Regions from separate parts of the Homo sapiens genome. Here all the other regions are linked to region 1. The links are contacts of gene promoters, found by promoter capture Hi-C in blood cells and fetal thymus (Javierre and others, 2016). All regions are on one chromosome and are shown on one strand. Each heading gives the region's core, a stretch centred on a gene start or on the middle of the fragment in contact. The rest is flanking DNA. Distances are from core to core; before and after follow the strand shown.

The links. The method cuts DNA at HindIII sites, captures the fragments that hold promoters and counts their contacts. A CHiCAGO score of 5 or more calls a contact.
Region 2: a fragment that was not itself captured here is called in contact with the fragment with the promoter of LSG1 in region 1 in 3 of 17 cell types (total CD8 T cells, naive CD4 T cells and M0 macrophages); the score reaches 8.4 in total CD8 T cells.
Region 3: a contact is called between a fragment that was not itself captured here and the fragment with the promoter of LSG1 in region 1, in 3 of 17 cell types (M0 macrophages, endothelial precursors and M1 macrophages). The highest score is 7.2, in M0 macrophages.
Region 4: a contact is called between a fragment that was not itself captured here and the fragment with the promoter of LSG1 in region 1, in 4 of 17 cell types (M0 macrophages, megakaryocytes, M1 macrophages and 1 more). The highest score is 5.9, in M0 macrophages.
Region 5: a fragment that was not itself captured here is called in contact with the fragment with the promoter of LSG1 in region 1 in 3 of 17 cell types (endothelial precursors, erythroblasts and megakaryocytes); the score reaches 6.4 in endothelial precursors.

Annotation. Positions count from the first base shown.
Region 1 is chr3:194,669,913-194,673,896 of GRCh38, forward strand. LSG1 (large 60S subunit nuclear export GTPase 1) reads right to left here and starts at 2,279. Exons shown (of 14, transcript NM_018385.3): 1 at 2,152-2,279; 2 at 97-223. The coding sequence starts at 2,250. It overlaps LOC124909474, which reads right to left. Exons shown (of 3, transcript XM_047449428.1): 3 at 3,752-3,984. The HindIII fragment of the contact is 1,582 bases long and covers 2,272-3,853 here.
Region 2 is chr3:195,507,118-195,511,101 of GRCh38, forward strand. No RefSeq gene overlaps it. Among named protein-coding and RNA genes, the nearest start is that of PPP1R2, 34 kb to the right of the region's middle. The HindIII fragment of the contact is 3,279 bases long and covers 190-3,468 here.
Region 3 is chr3:195,235,264-195,239,247 of GRCh38, forward strand. All of the region lies in intron 1 of XXYLT1 (xyloside xylosyltransferase 1), which reads right to left. Among named protein-coding and RNA genes, the nearest start is that of XXYLT1, 34 kb to the right of the region's middle. The HindIII fragment of the contact is 3,969 bases long and covers 1-3,740 here.
Region 4 is chr3:195,202,921-195,206,904 of GRCh38, forward strand. The region is part of intron 2 of XXYLT1 (xyloside xylosyltransferase 1); the gene reads right to left. Among named protein-coding and RNA genes, the nearest start is that of XXYLT1-AS2, 57 kb to the left of the region's middle. RefSeq lists an enhancer at 3,778-3,984. The HindIII fragment of the contact is 5,212 bases long and covers 1-3,984 here.
Region 5 is chr3:195,183,549-195,187,532 of GRCh38, forward strand. All of the region lies in intron 2 of XXYLT1 (xyloside xylosyltransferase 1), which reads right to left. Among named protein-coding and RNA genes, the nearest start is that of XXYLT1-AS2, 38 kb to the left of the region's middle. RefSeq lists an enhancer at 690-1,889. The HindIII fragment of the contact is 2,249 bases long and covers 698-2,946 here.

The sequences.
Region 1 (3,984 bases), core at 1,029-3,528:
AGAGCGAGACTCCATCTCAAAACAAAAAACAAAAAAAACCTCAGCCCCAGATGGAAATGTGACAGTCTCACCTGCACTCAGCAATAAACAACTTACCAGCTACAAACTCTGTTCCTGCAAGTTCTGCAGTAGCAAGGAAGTCATCAAGGGAGCTCTGTTCAGTCACTGACTGAAGATTAAGACGACCCCAATCATAGCCATCATTGAGTTCACTTGTGTGCAACTATGAAAAAACACAGGGTGATAAATACAGCTGCTCTCTTCTGCTCTTGGCATCCAATAAGCTCTAAAATTCCTTGCAACTAGTCTATGGTCTTGAGGGTGGTTGTAGTCCCTTTAGAATCAATACTACTTATAGTTAATGTTTAAAGGAACACGTTCTTACCTCACAATAGGCAGTTCCCTTTCACCATTTCATTAATTTTCAAAATCTTTTGAGGTGAATTTTACTGTATTTCCATTTTACTGATGATGAAACTAAGGCTTCAGCAGATAAAATAACTTGCCTATAGTCAAAATCTAAATGGCACAGGTAGAACTTGAACCCAGATTGTCTGACTGTGCTAGTCAAAATTAGTCAAAACTTTATTTGATATAATCCCACAATAAGAAATACATTTTACATAGTGACCCAAAGGTGTATGTACATATAATGATACAAGCATTCAAGTACCGTTCAGTACAGTAAAATGGCAATAGAAGAATACTGAAACCACACCCTATTACATGCAACATTCTGATATTTCTCTATCTTGCTGGGGAAAAAATAAAAACAAAACAAAACAGCTAGCTGCAGACCACTAAATTGACTTCCAGACACAACCCAGAGTTTGATAACCATCACCCTAAGCTATATACTTAGTATAGATACAAATAAAAAAAAATTGCCAGGCGTGGTGGTTTGTGCCTGTAACCCCAGCTCCTCAAGAGGCTAAGGCAGGAGGATTGCTTGAGGCCAGGAGTTTGTGATCAGCTTGGGCAACACAGCAAGACCCTGTCTCTCCAAAACAAACAAACAAAACCAAACAACCAGGCCTGATGGTGTGCACCTGTAATGCCAGCTACTCAAGAGACTGAGGCAGGGGGATTATTTGTGCCCAGAAGTTTGAGACTGTAGTGAATTGGTGAGTTATGATCACACCACTGGCACTCTAGCCTGGGTGACAGAGTGTGACCCTGTCTCTAAAAATGAATAACTGAATGATGAATGAATTTCCTAAATAAATATTAAGGGCCAAAAGTTTAAGTGGGCATAGAATCAGCAAAAATAAGGAATTAGGATCCAATTCTTTACCATTCATGTTCAATCTTCCCACAGTTTCCTAAAAGGCTTCATTAGTAACAAGTTGCTTCAAAGCTAATAAAAATTACCAGTAATCTAATGTCCAGAGTAACTCTGACCTGATGAATACTGATAAGCACTCCATGCTGTTTACTCTGCAGACTATATGGATGAAAGTCAGCTGGTGTGACAGTGGCACACGCTTACTTAGCTCCAGGGACATATTTAACTAAATTTAGCACACGATCTTAGCACTCAACATGTTCTCATTCATTCCCGGGGGAATGAATGGTGAAAATAACGACTAGAATGATGAACACAAGCCAAATCACTTCATTCATTTTTTTAAAGATCCTTCTATAACCTAGTAAAATATTAGGTCTTGTCACACCTGAAAAATCAATGATTTATCTTTGAGCTAAACCACTAGGGGGTGCTTCGCAAGGATGAGGCAAGGATCTGAATTATTTTATATTTCTGGCAGTAACCAACCGCTTCTGGAGGATCCATTCTTTGAACAAATCAATACAAAAATACGTTTTGTCTTTTTCCTGCTCTGGAAGTTCCAAGCACTTCAGTGGCTTCTAGGGCAAAACCCAAACGTACTCAAGACCTGGCATTGAAGACTCTTCAGATTCTCACTCCACGCCTCATCACCACACTAACTCTTCTTTCAAGCTTCTCCTACCTTTGTGTTCTGGGCCTTGCCAGGAGGAGGGCCTGCTACTCAGCTTGGCAGAAACTCCAACTCATCCTTCAAAACCCGGCTGAGGCGTCCCTCCTGCAAAACTTATCTGACTTTTGACCCCGAATTTTGCAGCACTCAGGCTAGACAGAAAAGATAAGAAAGATGACATGGTCTGTCTTACCCAGGAGTCAGTGTGACGATGGCTTCGGCTCCGCTGAGTCTGATGGCGCATAAGGGCCCGTCCCAGCGACCCACCGGCCGGGGCTCTCCTCCGGCCCATGGCAACACGACCGCTGGACGAAGCTTCCCGGCTCGGCGCGTGCAGTTTCCGGGATTCACAGTTCGATCCCCGGAAGTGACGATAAGCGAGCCCAAGTAGTTCAGGCTCAAACTTGAGAGGGGAAAGCAGAATGACTTGTTCTCAAGTTCTCCTTTTACGTCTCGATTTTACCAGTATTATAGAATATAAGTGAAAAAATGGTTCTGGGAAATTTTCGATAGATTTCCTGGCGAATGTCTCGAGTTTGGATAAATGACTGAGTTAAAAGAATGGTCCATTCTTAATTTGTGCGTCGGTCTTTAGCGTCCGGCGAGAAACTAGAGCACGTCGGAAACATGGCGGTTCCTATTCGCGGCACTAGCTCCGCCTTCCGCTGCTTCCGTCAGGAGGACGCGGAGACTCGGAGGAAGAGTGTTTCGGTGGCGCTGGGACGGGGGCGTTTCCCAGCGCTGGTTTTCTGCTGGCGTCCCGAGGTGTGGTCTCTCCGAGGTCCAGCACAGCAACTAACTTTTTGTTTATCTAGCCGACCCCAGCTGCGAACTGGGGAGAAAAGTCTTCGCCTGGATGTGAATTTGGAATGAGAGGCTGAATAGTATTTCCAGAGCTTGGCAAGGTTGTAGGAAAAGCCAACAGGAAGTGACTTACGCTTTATTTCAAAGAAAAAAAAAATGTTTAAACAGTTCTAATTATATTTTCATTACCCTTTTTAAAAATAATTAAAATGAAAGTGAAAACAGTGAGCCAGCTCCACTCCTAGAGGCCTGGGCTTTTGTTCCTCACTTGAATGTTTGATTTCCCTATAATGGGAATAATAGAAAGTCAGCTTAGAGTGGCTGGTGAACTACATTCTCATTGATCCAGAGAACCATCTCTTTGTTTTGATGCTTGGAGAGAGGAAGCAGCTTGAGCAAGTCGTAGATTGAGTGCGTGCAGTGTCAGGAATAAACCCAAGTCTTGTCACTAGCCTGTACACCCCTGGGGAGAGTGGGGAATGAGGGTTGTTAACATGTATTATTTATTTATTTTTATCTTTTGAGACAGAGTCTCGCTGTCCCCCAGGTGGAGTGCAAAGGCATGATCTCGGCTCACTGCAACCTCTGCTTCCCGGGTTCAAGTGATTCTCCTGCCTTAGCCTCCCGAGTAGCGGGAATTACAGACACGTGCCACCGCACCCAGCTAATTTTTGTATTTTTAGTAGAGACAGGGTTTGACTATTTTGGCCAGGCTGGTCTCGAACTCCTGACCTCAGGTGATCGCCCGCCTCGGCCTCCCAAAGTGCTAGGATTACAGGTATGAGCCACTGCGCCTGGCCAAACATGTATTTTTAAATCATAGGATCGAGGTAATGCATATATTACCTAGCATAGCTTGATTTAGCCATTCCACAATGTACACATATATCAAAACATTATGCGGTACAACGTAAGTAATAAACAATTTTTAGTTGTCAATTAAAACAACAGCCAAAAAGAAATAAATAGGATCAAGAATCTGTTTAACCTAGGGCTTTTCACACTTTAATGTGCATATAAATCCCCTGGGAATCTTGTTAACATGCAGATTCTGATTCATAAGCTCTGGGGTGAGGCCTGTGGCTCTAACAAGCTTCCAGGTGATACCCATAGTACTGGTCCTTGGGTCACACTTTGAGTAGCAAGCGTAGTCCACTCTTTCCTGGTGCAAATGAAGACACAGAAGTGGACTGGCTAAAGGTCAGTCATAGCAAGTTAGCAT
Region 2 (3,984 bases), core at 579-3,078, 840 kb after region 1:
AACCCAAATGTAAACTATGGACTTTGGGTCAGTGTCATTGTAGGTTCATTGATTATAACAAATGTACCACTTTGTGGGGGATATTGGTTATGGGGGAGGTTATGTATGTGTGAGGGCAGATGGTACATAAGAAATCTGTGTAGTTTTCTCTCAGTTTTGCTGTGAAGCTAAAACTGCTCTAAAAAATAAAGCTTATTTTAAAAAAATCACAAAACTTTCTTTGACTCATGTTCTAGTTGGAGCACAAAAGTGGAGAACTGCTATCTTTTCCAAAAGTGTTAAATGAGTTCATGAAACAGGGCTGGTCACCATTCAAGAGGTATTACATTTCAGTAACAACCCCTTCACCCTAGTCAGAGATTTTTGGCAATTTCTAACATCCAGAAACACAGACAGGAGGCTCGAAATGAAAAGAAGCCTCTTGGTATCAAGGAAAACAGTCACAAAGCCCACACACATTAAGCTGGTAATGATCCTCAGATGTCTTACTGTTGAAAAAGCCCAGCATGTTAAAGCTCAGGAAGAATCCCTTCAATGGGTTCTTGAGGACAAGACTGTATTTCAGATAGTATAATAATCAGTGTTCTGGGTTAGGCATGGTGACTTGTGCCTGTAATCCCAGCACTTTGGGAGGCCGGAGGCCGAGGTGGGCAGATCGCTTGAGCTCAGGAGTTTGAGACCAGCCTGGGCAACATGGTGAAACCCCATCCCCACCAAAAATACAAAAAAAAAAAAAAAAAAAATTAGCTGGGCATGATGGCACATTCCTGTAGTCTCAGTTACTGGGGGGCTGAGGCGAGAGGATCGCTTGAGCCCAGGAGGTGGAGGCTGCAGTGAGCTGAGATCGCGCCACTGCACTCCAGCCTGGGCGACAGAGTGAGACGCCGTCTCAAAAAAAAAAAAAAAAAAAAAAATATATATATATATATATATAACAATAATCAATGTTCATCATAAGAACAAGCTGGAGTCAATGAGTAAAGATTATGTTTGGTTTTTGAATATTGGAAAATGCACCACTCTCTAGCAAGATTTCCAAAAATGCTTACAAGCTGGAGTTTTGGTACAAGGCCTCAGCTGATTTGAGAAATTTTACTTCAGTGTAAGAGCTTGTTTTCAGATTATCCTGAATGTGTTAATTCTTAATACTCTCCACTCTGGAAAAAAGATAACCACCAAAGCGAGACAGGGCCACAGTGGTTCAGTCCAAGGAGAGATTTATTGTGAAAATGAAGAGTCAGGGTAACTGTATTCTAGTCTCTCCTCTGCCAAGAACCAGTTGAGTAATATTGACTTCCCTTTGCTTGCCTCTAAAAATTAAGGAAATTAGTTATTTCTGGTTTCTTTCTGGTTTCTAAGGAAATTAGCTGATTTTTGGTTTCTTTCTGGTTCTAATATTCAAACATGAAACATGAGGAAACATTAATAGAAAGGAAAAGGTGAATCACATTATGAGCAGGTATCATCCTTTTATTCACTCTGGCCATACTTGTTGAGAGTTCTATTGAGCTGGCCCATACCAAGCTCTGAGAATACTGTAGTAAGGGAAAGAGCTCCTGTCTTCATGGAGCTTTTTATTTAGTGAGGAAACCAGGCAACAAGCAAATAAACCAACAAGTTGAGGAAACAGTCTGAGAACCATAGGAAAGACATCTTTTTTACATGGAATAGGCAGGAAATAGCACCTCTGGGGGAGTTACGTTTGAACCTAAGAATGAGCAGAAAAGTTGCATGAAAAATTAGTAAAGAGCATTTCCAGCAGAGGGGCTTGCTAGTATCTAGGCCCTAACAGAGAAGAGAAACTTAGTAAACTGTACAAACTGAATAAAAAACCAAAACAAAATTTCTAATGACTGAAATAATTAAGTAGGAGTGGCACAAAAAATTTGAACAGGTATGTGGGAGCCAGTACAAAGTTTTGTCAGTCAGTCTAAGACACCTGGACTCATTCTTAAGGATGGTAGAGAAATTGCTGAAAGGCTTTAAGTAGGACAGCAACACTTACTGCTTTTTAAAAAATGGACTGGAGGCTGGGCGTGGGGGCTCACGCCTGTAATCCCAGCACCTTGGGAGGCTCAGGCGGGCGGATCATGAGGTCAGATCGAGACCATCCTGGCTAACATGGTGAAACCCCGTCTCTACTAAAAATACAAAAAAAAAAAAAAATTAGCCGGGCGCCTGTAGTCGCAGCTACTCGGGAGGCTGAGGTAGGAGAATGGCGTGAACCCGGGAGGCAAAGTTGCAGTGAGCTGAGATCACACCATTGCACTCCAGCCTGGGGGACAGAGCGAGACTCCGTCTCAAAAAAAAAAAAAAAAAAGGACTGGAAAGCTGGGTGCAGTGGCTCATTCCTGTAATCCCAGCACTTTGGAAAGCTGTCGCAGGAGGATCACTTGAAGCTAGGAGTTCAAGACCAGCCTGGGTAACCTAGCAAAACCCCCTCTCTACAAAATGTTTTAAAATTAGCTAGGCATAGTGGCACATCCCTATAGTCCTAGCCACTTGGGAGGCTGAGGTGAGAGGATCAATTGAGTCCATGAGTTTTAGGATGCAGTGAGTTATAAATGTGCCACTATACTCCAGCACGGGCAACCGAGCAAGACTCTGCCTCTTAAAAAGTTTTTTAAAAAGTATGATGGCTTGACTAAGGTATCTACAGTAGAGACTGAAGATGGTGAGAGATTTAGATACATGATGAAGGTATGGACTGGATTTGAGTATTTGAGAGAAAGAAATGAATCAAGGTAGACAATGTGGTGCTCAGTTATTGATTTTGGGAGAGTGTTTGGAGTGGGGGATAGAGCTATTAAGAATAGTTGGGAGGGGCCGGGTGTGGTGGCTCACACCTGTAATCTCAGCACTCTGGGAGGCCGAGGCAGGCAGATTGCCTGAGCTCAGGAGTTTGAGACCAGTCTGACTAACATGGTGAAACCCCGTCCCTACTAAAAAATACAAAAAAATTAGCCAGGCGTGGTGGCTTGCACTGTAATTCCAGCTACTTGGGAGGCTGAAGCAGGGGAATTCCTTGAACCAGGGAGGTAGAGGTTGCAGTGAGCCGAGATCCTGCCACTGCACTCCAGCTGGGCAACAGAGCAAGATTCTGTCTCAGGAAAAAAAAAAAAAGAACAGTTTGGAGGAAAAAAACTCAGTTTCGAACATGATGTTTATGATATACATAAGACATGTAAGACATGTAAGCAATAGACATCGTGATTCTTCTGTTCTACCTCTTTTATATATATTTTGCTTTTTGTCACAGTGATTATATATCTTTGTTCTAAGAACCACTTTTTATTTACCTTTTCAATGTGCATTCATTCCCCAGCAAAATTCCTGAGCACATACTTGGTGCTTAATAAAGGTTTAATAATGTTCTAAAAAACAAACATCTTTTCCTCTCAGCTTTATCAGTGTGTCCTCACTGAGTCCAGAAAATTTCAGACTCTAGGTCTACAGAACAATGCTTGAAGCTTAGAGTAATAGAGAATATTATTCTGGGTTCAATTTACTTAGTAATCTGTTCAATTCCACCCCATCTCCCAGGACTGTTTTTAAGAGTCCTAGATTGGATTACATACTTTGTGATTTACCATGAAAAACTAACTCTCAAAAGCTGGGCATAGGGCCGGGTGCGGTGGCTCACGCCTGTAATCCCAGCACTTTGGGAGGCCAAGGCAGGCGGATCACAAGGTCAGGAGATCAAGACCATCCTGGCTAACACAGTGAAACCCCGTCTCTACTAAAAATACAAAAAAAAAAAAAAAAAAAAAAAAATTAGCCAGGTGTGGTGGCAGGCGCCTGTAGTCCCAGCTACTCAGGAGGCTGAGGCAGGAGAATGGCGTGAAACTGGGAGGTGGAGCTTGCAGTGAGCCAAGATCACACCACTGCACTCCAGCCTGGGCAACAGAGCAAGGCTTCATCTCAAAAAAAAAAAAAAAAAAAAAAAAAAGCTGGGCATTGGCCGGGCACAGTGGTTCATGCCTG
Region 3 (3,984 bases), core at 506-3,005, 560 kb after region 1:
CATTCTTCTACTTGATTAATTCTACTATTAGGAGATTCTGATGCATTCTTCAGTAAGTCAATTGCATTTTTCAGCTCCAGAATTTCTGCTTGACTGTTTTTAATTATTTCAATTTGTTTGTTAAATTTATCTGATAGGATTCTGAATTCCTTCTCTGTGCTATCTTGAATTTCTTTGAGTTTCCTCAAAACAGCTATTTTCAATTCTCTGTTTGAAAGATCACATATCTCTGTTTCTCCAAGACTGGCCCCTGGTGCCTTATTTAGTTCACTTGGTGAGGTCCTATTTTCCTGGATGGTCTTGATGCTAGTGGATGTTTGTAGGTGTCTGGCCATTGAAGAGTTAGGTATTTATTGTAGTCTTTGCAGTCTGGGTTTGTTTGTACTCATCCTTCTTGGGGAGGCTTTCCAGGTATTCAAAGGACGTGGGTGTTGTGATCTAAGTTTTTGGTCACTGCAGCTGTATCTGCATTAGGGGGCATACCAAGCCCAGCAATGCCGTGGTTCTTGCAGATTTGTAGATGCACCACCTTGATGGTCTTAGATCACATCTGGAAGAATTCTCCGAATTACTTGTTCTCTTCCCTATCTCCCAGATGAATGCAATCTCTCTATATATCTATAAATATATAGACATAGACATAGACATAGACATAGACATAGACATAGACATAGACATAGACATAGACATAGAGATATACACCTGGCTGGGCTGCCTGGAGATTGGGGAGGGGTGACACCCCTGTCACTATCACCACTGGGACTGCACTTGGTCAGATCTGAAGCCAGCACACCACTGAGTTTTGCCCGAGGCCTGCTATAACCACTAGCTGACTACTCTCTATGTTCAATCAAGGCCCTAGGGCCCTACAATTAGCAGGTGGCAAAGACTGCCAGGCTTGTGTCCTTCCCTTAAGGGCAGTGAGTTCTCTTGGGCCCCAGGCAGGTCCAGAGATGCTATCTGTGAGCCAGGGCCTGCAATCGGAAGCCCTAGAAATCTGCCTGGTGCTCTATTCTACTGCGGTTAAGCTGGCAACAAAACCACAAGATAAAGTCCTTCCCACTCTTCCCTCCTCTTTCTCCAGGCAGAGGACTCTCTCCCTGTGTCCAGTACCACCACAGGCCCATGGGGAGTGCTGCCAGAGCGCCACCAATGTTCACTTAATGCCCAAGGACTCTTTAGTCAGCTTGTGGTGAATGCTGCCAGTCCTGGGACTCTCTTCAGGGCAGTGAGCTCCCCTCTGGCCTGGGGTAGGTCCAGAAATGCTATCCCAGAGCCAAGGCCTGGAACTGGGGACCCCAAGGGCCCAGTTGGTGCTCCCCCTATGTCTGAGCTGGTATCTAAGCTGCGAGACACAGTCCCCTTTATTCTTCCCTCTCCTTTACTCAAGCAGAAGGAGTCTCTCCTCGTTAACCACCACAGCTGTGAATGTGCTGGATCCCATCTGAAGCCAGCAGGTCTCAGAGTCTCACCCAAGGCCCATGGTATGTACTACCTGGTTACCACTGCTGATTATTCAGGGTCCAGGGGCTCTTTCGTCAGCAGGTGATGATTCCTGCCATTACTGGGTCCTTCCCTTCAGGGCAGTAGGCTCCCTTCTGGCCCAGGGTGTCTAGAAATGTCATCTAAGATCTAGGGCATGGAATGGGGGCCTCATGACTCTGCCTGGTGCCTTATCCTACCGTGACTGAGCTGGTACCCAAGTTGCATGACAAAGTCCTCTTTACTCTCCTCTCCTCTAACAGAAGGAGGGGGTCTCTTTTGGAGCTGTGAGCTGCGCTGCCTGGGTTTGGGGGATAGGGGATGCAAGTGCTCCCTGAGCCACCCTGGCTGGTGTCTCATTAGGTCATGTAACCCCCAAGTCCACTGGCTCTGAGCCCAGCACAGCACTAGGACTCACCTGGGTGTTGCAGTCCTTGTGGCCTGGTTTATTTAGAACCCAGAACACTTTAACCTATGGTAACAAGGCTTGCTGGAACTCAAGTTCTGACTGCTGAGATGGGTGATTCTCCTCTGTCTAGGCTGGTCTAAATGCTCCCTCCGTGGGCATCGGCTGAGTTCTACCCACTGCTGGCAGCAATGAGTTCCAATGCAAAGTCCCACAACTGCTGCACTCTCCTTTCCCCGTCACACAGGTTCTCTCTGAGCACCATGTGGCCACCGCCACAGGGATGGAGTCAGTGATCAAGACTGTCTTTCCTACCCTCTGCAGTGCTTCTTTCGGTAATATGAAGTTAAAACCAGGTACTGTGATCGCTCACCTGATTTTTAGTGCCCACGAAGGTGCTTTTTTGGTGTAGATCGTTGTCAAATTTGGTGTTCTTGTGAGGAGGATGGTTGGTGGAGGCTTCTGTTTGGCCACCTTGCTCCACCTCCAGCCTAACCATAAAAACCTTTTATGCCACATTGGTCCTCCTCATTCCCTAAAACTTGTTTTATGTAACACTTTAAATCTTCTGCCTCATTATAAAAGCCTTTTTAAAAATGTCTTCATGCTTCTCTTCTAAGGTACCGTTTCCTTTATCCTTTTCTGGCTACTGGTTTGTTTGTTGTTTGTTTGTTTTTAATACTTTTTTCCAGACACAGAATCCAGACCAGTTCCTGCTATTTTCCAACAGAAATCTCAAATTATGTTTCTCATTCCCACACCCCTCCGCTTCCTCTCACCCCTGCCCCTGCGACCTCTCTGACAGGTTTCCCTACCTCCTACCTTCCCCACTGCCCCATTCTGTTATACCTCCAGAATTGTTTTCCAAATAGAGAAATTCGTTTTTCTCTCTCCCTGGCTTCAAGACCTCCGACGACTCGTCGCTCCCTTAGTTACAGTCCGAATCCTCTAGCAAGGCCTCTAAGCCGCTGCAATAGTGGTTCTGGCCCCGTCCCCCGACCTCCCCGCCTCGTGTGACTGGGCAGCACTGAACCAGGCAGTCTCCCGTCTACTGGCCACACCTGGATGACCTACATCCTTGCATGCCTGTACTTGCTCTTCCCACCGTCTGTAATTACCTCTCCCAGCCCCCATCTGCCTGGTAAGATCCTATCCAGTTTTCCAATCCTCCCCTCCAGCCTTCCCACAGCCTCCCACAATTCACCAGGCCCTTCCTAACACCCTGCATCGCATGGGGGCTCCACTCACCCTGTCTGACTCACTTTTCAGGGCTCTGTTTCTCTATCGGCTGCATGGGGCACTCCTCGTAGGCAGAGGCCGTGACTGCTCTGTGCCCTGTATCCAGCCACTGGCCACATGACAGGCCACCCATACATCCATACAGGTTTGCTAAACTAAGTGAACTGCACTTTGGGCAAGTAACTAAACCTCTCTGAGCCCCAGTTTCTTCGTGGGTAATACAGGACTGTCACCACATGCTTCCTGTGGTGTCTGTCAGGGCCATGTGGAACACACATTGAGCCCGGGGGTTGCCACACTGTGCTTACTCCTAAGTGTTAGCACCAAACCTCCTCCCAGTCCCCGAAATGCCTTCTCCCCACAGATCAGTTTTCACTCCTAAGCCAGCTTTTCCCTCCCTCCAAATCATCCCTATCCGTTCGAATTACACAGGAAGCTGGAAGCTGACAAGAGGGTTCTCGCAGAAGGGAAGGCCTCTGTGTTCACTAAGCAGGAAGAGAAAGAACGGATCTGCGCAGGCATACACGCAGAGCAGGGCTGCTGCAGCCAAACTAAGGGAGATGAAGAGCTATCCTCAGCCAGCTCACTCCCTACTGGCCCCATCTCACCCCAAAGCTTCACAGGAGACAACTGCATCCCATCAGCATGAATAGACTTCTGAGGACAAACTGTACTCAGTACATTGTTCCAGACGCTGTGCTGCCAAGCCTGCACCCATGAATATTTCATATAATAAATCTGCTTAAAGATAAATGAGTATGCTTCATGGAATAGACTTTATGCAGCAAGAGGCAAATCACAGACCCTGCAAGTGTGAATCAAAATACCCAGGCCTCCCAAAGACTAAAACAGGTTTG
Region 4 (3,984 bases), core at 978-3,477, 530 kb after region 1:
TCTAGGTGTGACACAAAATCTAAAAGTCACAAGATAGACCTGACAACACAAATTAAAAAAAGAAATTTTGTATAGATGGGCTCTCACTATGTTGTCCAGACTGGGCTTGAACTCCTGGCCTCAAGCAATCCTACTGCCTCGGCCTCCCAAAGTGCTGGCATTACAGGTGTGAGCCACCACACCTGCCCACAACACAAATTTTTTAAAAACCTTCATAGAAAAAAAGTTAAAAGACTGCAAAAAAAAAATGTTTTCAACGTATTTCAGGGACAAAAATGCTTATTTCCTTAACAAATACAGAGCTCCTTGAAATTACTAAACATCAACAACCCAATAGAAAAATGGGCTAAGGGCATAAAGAGTTCATAGAAAAGAAATTCAGTGATTCTTACCATATGAAAGGAGATCCAATTTCACTCAAAAGAAAGGAAAGAAAACTTAATATTCTATAATGATATATATTTCACCTATCAAATTGGCCTGTACCCACCCCTTCACCTCACTGAAAATCCCTGGGGGCCCACATATCCTTCAAGACAGCAGCAGACCCCATGCCACCCCCAGGCTTGGGACTGACAGCAGTGCAGAGAAGGAACATGCAGGCACCAGAGAAAACCCACAAAAGAAGTGAATCGAACATTAACATCTCCCTCTGTAAAACACAAAGAACAGAGCTCTAGCCACCACTCAGGCCTTTAAAGTAAGGAGCAAATGGCCTGACAGACACATTCTCTCCACTGTGTCAGTGTCTCTCCAGCAGGATTCCTCCGCCCAGTGTTTTTGCCATTGGCCTATTATTTATTCCTCACAGCCCCTTGGAGCAGTGTGCTGGGACTGTCATCCTCCATGCTGATGGGGCTGTGAGGCCAGGCACTGCTGTGCTTCTTGTCTGAGGTCATCAAGCAACTTGGGGACACATTAGTCAAGTCAGCCCCCGGAACAGAGGCTGAGACGAAGGTGGGGGCATCAGTTGACAGCTCAGCAAGGGAGAAGAAAGGCTGATAACCAACTGAGGAAATGACGGTCATGTCAGACACAGCCCTAAAGGAGGCGGCGAGGCAAGTGCTTTTAAAAAGCCTCAGGTTTTTGCTTCTAATAGAGCTTAGAATTCACCACACATAGTGTTAGAGAAAACTATCATTGGCCGGGCACAGTGGCTCACGCCTGGAATCCCAGCATTTTGGGAGGCTGAGGCAGGTGGATCATGAGGTCAGGAGTGCGAGACCAGCCTGGCCAGGATGATGAAACCCCATCTCTACTAAACATACAAAGATTAGCCGGACGTGGTGGCAGACGCCTGTAGTCCCAGCTACTTGGGAGGCTGAGGCAGAAAACTCGCTTGAACCCAGGAGGCAGAGGTTGCAGTGAGCTGAGATTGCACCACTGCACTCCAGCCTGGCGACAGAGCAAGACTCTGTCTCAAAAAAAAAAAAAAGAGAGAGAGAGAGAGAAAACTACCATCATCTTAAGCAAAGCTGGCATGGGTCTGTGGCTAAAAGGTCCTCGCTTTCTCTCTCCCTGACACACACACGCACACACACACACTCACTCTCTCACTCTCTCTCTCTCTCTCTCTCTCTCTCTCAGTGGCATCTTCGTGTTCCAGTCTGAACTGCTGGCCAGCCAGCCAGCCAGGTCAGGGATGAATGACAAGGTGGCCCAGAAGACCAGTCCTGGCAGCCACAGTGGCCGTGCCGAAGCCTGGTCTGTGCAGGGACTGTGGTCTTCATGGGTTGCTCAGGCAACTCAAGTATCTCACTACCCACAACCCGCAATGTGCTGCAGAAGCCAAGACGAACTTCATTAACACGCTTGACCTGTGGCAACCCTCATGACCCAGCAGCCCTGCAGAATCCAGCCAGGCTAGGAAACGCAGGGGCAGACAGTGAATAAATGTCTACAGCCCTCCGCTAAGATTCTGTGACACTGTTTTCAGATACACCCACAAAAAGGAAGCACTAATAGACCCAGCTGGGGACAGTTTATAAAGCAGTTTCACATGCAAGATAATCCCAATCACGCAAGATCATCAGAGCACAAATTTTCCTCCCCAGTTGCGAAGTCAGAAAATAGAGGTGGAGGGAGAGAGGACCTCTGGTTTAGAAGGGACTTGAGAAACACTCAAACATTGCTGTTGGGATTTTGCCAAACTCTGGAAAAGTCTGCCAAACTCTGGCAAATCGCCAAACTCTGGAAAAGTCTGCCAATTTTTTATAAAATGAAACAAGTAACTACCAAAAGACCCAGCTACTGTACTTTCAGGCATTTATATCAGAGAAATAAAAATTTATGTCCATACAACAAAATGCAGCTTTATGCATACTAGCCGCAAACTGGGGACAACCAAGCTGTCCTTAAATGGATGGTTAAGCAAACTGGTATATTCGCATGATGAAATACGACTCAGCAATTAAAAAGTGAATTACTGACACGCAACAACTGGAATGAACCTCTTGAGGATTATGTTGAGAAAAAAGGCCTATCTCAAAAGGTTACATACTTTAGGATTCCATTGATACACATTCTTGAAATACAGAAATGAAGGAGGAAATTAGTGGTTGCTACGGGTCAGAGGAGGTGGGTGTGGCTGTAAAAGGCAGCACGAAGGATCTTTGTGGGGATAAACGTTCTCAGCTTGATGGTATCAAAGTCACTATCCTGGCCGGGCACGGTAGCTCATGCCTGGAATCCCAGCACTGTGGGAGGCCGAGGCGGGTGAATTACCCAAGGTCACGAGTTCAAAACCAGCCTGGGTAACATGATAAAACCCTGTCTCTACTAAAAATACAAAAATTAGCCAAATGTGGTGGCAGGCGACTGTAATATCAGCTACTCGGGAGGCTGAGGCAGGAGAATCGCTTGAACCCAGGAGGTGAAGGTTGCAGTCAGCCGAGATCGTGCCACTGCACTCCAGCCTGGGCAACACAGCAAGGCTCTGTCTCAAAACTAACAGACAACAACAACAAAAACAATATCCTGGTTGTTGTATTTGCTATAGTTTTTGCAAGATGTTACCACTGGGGGAAAGTGGGTAAAGGATCTCTGTATTGCTTCTTACAACCTCATGGTAATCTACAATTATCTTAAAATTTAAAGTTTAATTTTTTTTTTTTTTTTTTTTTGAGAGGGAGTCTCACTCTGTCACCCAGCCTGGAGTGCAGTGGCACGATCTCAGCTCACTGCAAGCTCTGCCTCCCGGGTTCACACCATTCTCCGAGTAGCTGGGACTACAGGCCCCCACCACCACGCCCAGCTAATTTTTTGTATTTTTAGTAGAGACGGGGCTTCACTGTGTTAGCCAGGATGGTGTCAATCTCCTGATCTCGTGATCCACCCGCCTCGGCCTCCCGAAGTGCTACGATTACAGGCGTGAGCCACCACGCACGGCCTAAAGTTTAATTTTGAAAGAGAGAATGGGAAAGACTCAAGAGTCAACCAAATGAAACATGTAGTCAATTCAAGAATGTGAATCCTGCATGGATACTAGATGGCAATAAGGTGATTATTTATTGTTAGTTTTGCTAAATGTAATAAAAATAGCGCATTTAATACAAATAGTACTTTCCAGCCAGTTGCGGTGGCTCACACCTGCAATCCCAGCACTTTGGGAGGTCGCGGTGGGAGGATCACTTGAGGTCAGGAGTTCAGGACCAGCCTAAGCAACATGGTGAAACCCCATCTCTACTAAAAATACAAAAATTAGCCGGGCGTGGTGGCACGTGCCTGTAATCCCAGCTACTCAGGAGGCTGAGGCAGGAGAGTCACTTGAACCTGGAAGGCAGAGGTTGCAGTGAAAGATTTGGCCATTGCACTCCAGCCTGGGTGACAGAGCAAGACTCCGTCTCAAAAAAAAAAAGTACTTTTCTGTTAGAGAGACTTATCAAAATATTTAAAAATAAAATAAGATCTGGTATTTGCTTCTGGGGGAGAAGGCGATGGGTGGGAGTCGAGATGAAAAGGGGCAGGCCATGAGTTGGTAACTAC
Region 5 (3,984 bases), core at 572-3,071, 510 kb after region 1:
TTCAGGCTACGATTGGTCTGTCCTTTGGGTCTCTGAAAAATTGGCTTCCATCTGTTGTGGCCAGTGCCAGAAGGTCTGGTTCTAGGAATCCAAAAAGGTTAGGTCATTTTCAGGAATCCAGGGGACTCAAGTCCCTCCAGAATGATCCAAAGCTCTGCTATGGTTGCAAACAGGAAGGGAGTGAAACTACCAAGGAGCCCAGAACCCAACTGTTACCCACCCTGGTCCCCAGGAAAGGGGCAATTTGGGACCAACTAGGACTCTACCCCTCAACAGTCCAAGACTAGAAGGGAACCAGTGTGAAGGCTGAATGGTCAGAAAAAAACTGGAAGGCCTGACACTTCCCAGGATCGAAGGGCTATGTGATCCACTTGGCTGCCCTAGACCATCTGTGAGGCATATCATTTTGAGAGAAGAACACTGCCTTAAATTCTGGAATGAAAATCTTTTGTTAGAATACAGGCTGAATTTATAATCTACAAAGGAAGAGAAAGAGAAAAGACACACAAATGGCCTAGTTTGTGCAACACTGTCCAGCACACTTAAACTCATTTAATCAGCATCATTGAGCTATGAGCAAAGACAACCATCAGAGCAAGATACACAGGTGGGCCCTGCACAAAGACCACCCGTGTAAGGCCCTGTGTCGGTCCTTTTATTAAGAGTGAGTTAATTCAGTGCAAAAGAACAATGGACAAGCTTGGCAATTGCTTCAGTTTTACAACAGACGATATCAATTTTTCACATAACTTTCCAAAATGCTAAATGTGACTGGCTTTTAGCCCAATATGTGGAGCTCTCCATACCTCAGTTGACCTCCTTTTGGATTTCAAGCTGTCAAACACCTTTAGATCATAACAAAGGGCTAACTGAACGGCATGATCTTTAAACCGAAAACATGATTAAACCTTTGCCTTTAAACTGAAACCATGATTAAAATCCCAACTCACCTTGTTGGCTGACACCATACCTCAGACTATCTTAATAAATGGCCTCCTAATTCTGGAAGTTTAAGAAAATCCTCAAAATGGTTTGGAAGAACCCCCCCAAGAAACATTTAAGTCTCCCTGATTAGGTCTACTTACCCAGAAACAAGGTCTCTTCAGGACTCACCGGAGAACCAACAGAATTCCTTCCCCACCCCACACACAGCCGGTAAAACTTCCAATATTTGAGTCTATCATAGACACAGTAGGCTGGGAAAATATTCCAGGGAACTTAGCATTCTGAAAGAAGTGACTACTTCAATTAGGAAAAAAATCTGAAGTTCCCTTTCAGGCCAAATCATTCTCATTCATCTTTACCAATAAAATGGTCTACATTCAAATGGTAAGTTTGATCCCCGCATCATCAATCATCCTTTCAGTTTCGTTTGATCAAATGTTGGGCATTTATACAGCTCATTTTACAAACCATACAAATCAGAAGGTAGAAGTCAGGAGGGCCTGGCACCCCTCATGCCTGCCCTCTTGCAGAGCAGTGACAGCTCCACAAATGACCTCACTCCCATTAAAGAAAAAAGGAAGGAAAGAAGGAAGAAGGAAGGAAGGAAGGAAGGAAGGAAGGAAGGAAGGAAGGAAGGAAGGAAGGAAGGAAGGAAGGAAAAAAGAAAAAGAAAAGGAAAGGAAAGGGGAAGGAACAGAGGGTGCTGGAGAATAGGGAAGAAAGGTCTGTTCTGGGAAACAGAACAGTAGGGGTTTTGGAATGCTCAGTGTCTTAGAACTTAGACTAAAGACTGGAAACACCAGCTCAGGGAATATTCCATCGTGGTCATCTGATTGCTGGAACATGAAACTTGGAGCACATCTGCAGTGAAATGGGGGAGGAATAAAGATACTGAAAGGACATTCTCCAGAACCATGAGGACAGAGAGACTTCAGCAGAAAATAGGCCACTAGTATTTTGGGGTCCTGCTTCAGGAGCAAAACTTTGGTCCAGAGAGGTTTAGGGCTGGGTTTTTTTTTTTTTTTTTTTCACTTTGATTTCTGAGGTCACTGAAGGACCATGGGTAATAAGGTCAATTTGTGCTGATTTATAAAAATCAGCCTTCTGACTTCAGAGCTGTGGCACACATTATTTTAGACTCTGAGGTCATGTTAGTCACAGGTGTTGGGCTGGCCTGGCCTGAGGAGCAGGTCGACACACCCTCTGGGCGCTGAGGGACACAATGGGGACGGCATCTTCACTTTCTTCCTTCCGGTCCTTCCTGAGTGCTTGCAAGTGAGCCCAACCCTTACTTCTCTAAAAGAGGCTCACACCCCATCTACATACCTGGACACTCCCTCTCCTTGCACAACAAGACCAGAGGCCTCTCCCTTCCCTTTCCCACCTCTCTTCAGTCACTTTCACTCAGACCTTTCTTTTCCTGTGAAGGCTTCCTGCTCCCTTGGCCCTCAAGCTCTGAAGACCAGTCCACAGCTTTCTGGCTCTAGGGTCCCTGCAACACCTACCACGAGCTCTCAACCTCCCCTCTCACCTAAGAAGTCCAGGCCACTGTGCTCCTAAGTGCCTGGACCGCCTCCTCAGCTGCCTTCTGCTACATGATCAAGTTTCCCCAGAACTTTTGAAAGCCACCACAGAGCTGCTCCCAGACATGTCATTCCCCTCTTCAAAACCTTCCATTGCTGGTTCCCTCACCACAACCCAACAACTGGAACTCTTCGTTGAGCTTCACTGTGCTCTCCAGGGATCCTCAAGTCCAGACCATTCTTTCAGGTCCATCCCACAGAAGAACGCATGCAAAAGTACTTAAGTCACTGGATGAAAATGCAAACCATATTACTCCATTGGTTAAAATGCCACCAGTGGTTGCAAATCCCACTGTCCCCAGGATAAAGTCCCCAATCCCTCGCACAGCTTTCAAGGCCCTGAATAGCCTGACCGGGGTGTGCTCCAGGCAGCTAAGGCTTCAGCTTCTGGGGCACATCAAGCTCCTTCCACCCACAAAGCTTTTCCACTCAATATGCTCTCGGCCTCACTCTTCTTCCTCCGTGTCTTGGCCTGGCTAAGTCCCACCCACTTGTCTCACCTTAAATGTCACTGTCTGGAGGAAGTCTTTAGTAACAATCCCCCCCCACACACCCTGAATCCCCCACTCGGGCAGCACCTGGACTTCCCCTTCGTTGCCCTTATTGCAGCTGTTCCCATTATCTGCTTAATGTCTATCTTCACTGTACATTCCATGAGGACAGAGACCGACCCCATCTGTTTTTCTAACCCCCATGTCCTTAGCACCTAGGCAAGATCTGGCTCACAGGTGAAACTGAATAAATCTTTGCTGAGTGAGTGAAGTGCTGGTGATAACCTCTCCACGGACCTGGGCCCTCTAACCCACAACACTGGCTGAAGTTTTTTTTTTTTTTTTGAAACAGACTCTTGCTCTGTCACCCAGGCTAGAGTGCAGTGGCGCGATCTCGGCTCACCGCAACCTCCACCTCCTGGGTTCAAGTGATTCTCCTGCCTCAGCCTCCTGAATAGCTGGGATTACAGGTGCCCACCACCGTGCCCAGCTAATTTTTATATTTTTAATAGAGACGGGAATTAGCCAGGCGTGGTGGCGGGCGCCTGTAGTCCCAGCTACTCGGGAGGCTGAGGCAGGAGAATGACTTGAACCCGGGAGACGGAGCTTGCAGTGAGCAGAGATCCCACCACTGCACTCCAGCCTGGGCCGCAGAGCAAGACTCCATCTCAAAAAAAAAAAAAAAAGATAGAGACGGGGTTTCACCATATTTGTCTCGAACTCCTGACCTCGTGATCCACCCGCCTTGGCCTCCCAAAGTGCTGGGATTAAAGGCGTGAGCCACCATGCCCGGCCAGCTGAAGCTTTGCTTCTCACTCCTCCCAACTGTCTCTTCTGTGTCCCTTCTCTTGATACCAGCCTCCACTGTTATTATTAATATTCATTCAATTTTTTTTCTGAAAATTCCAATTTATCTGTATAGTGCTATGAGGAGCCCTAAGAATACAGTCAATCAATCAGACAGG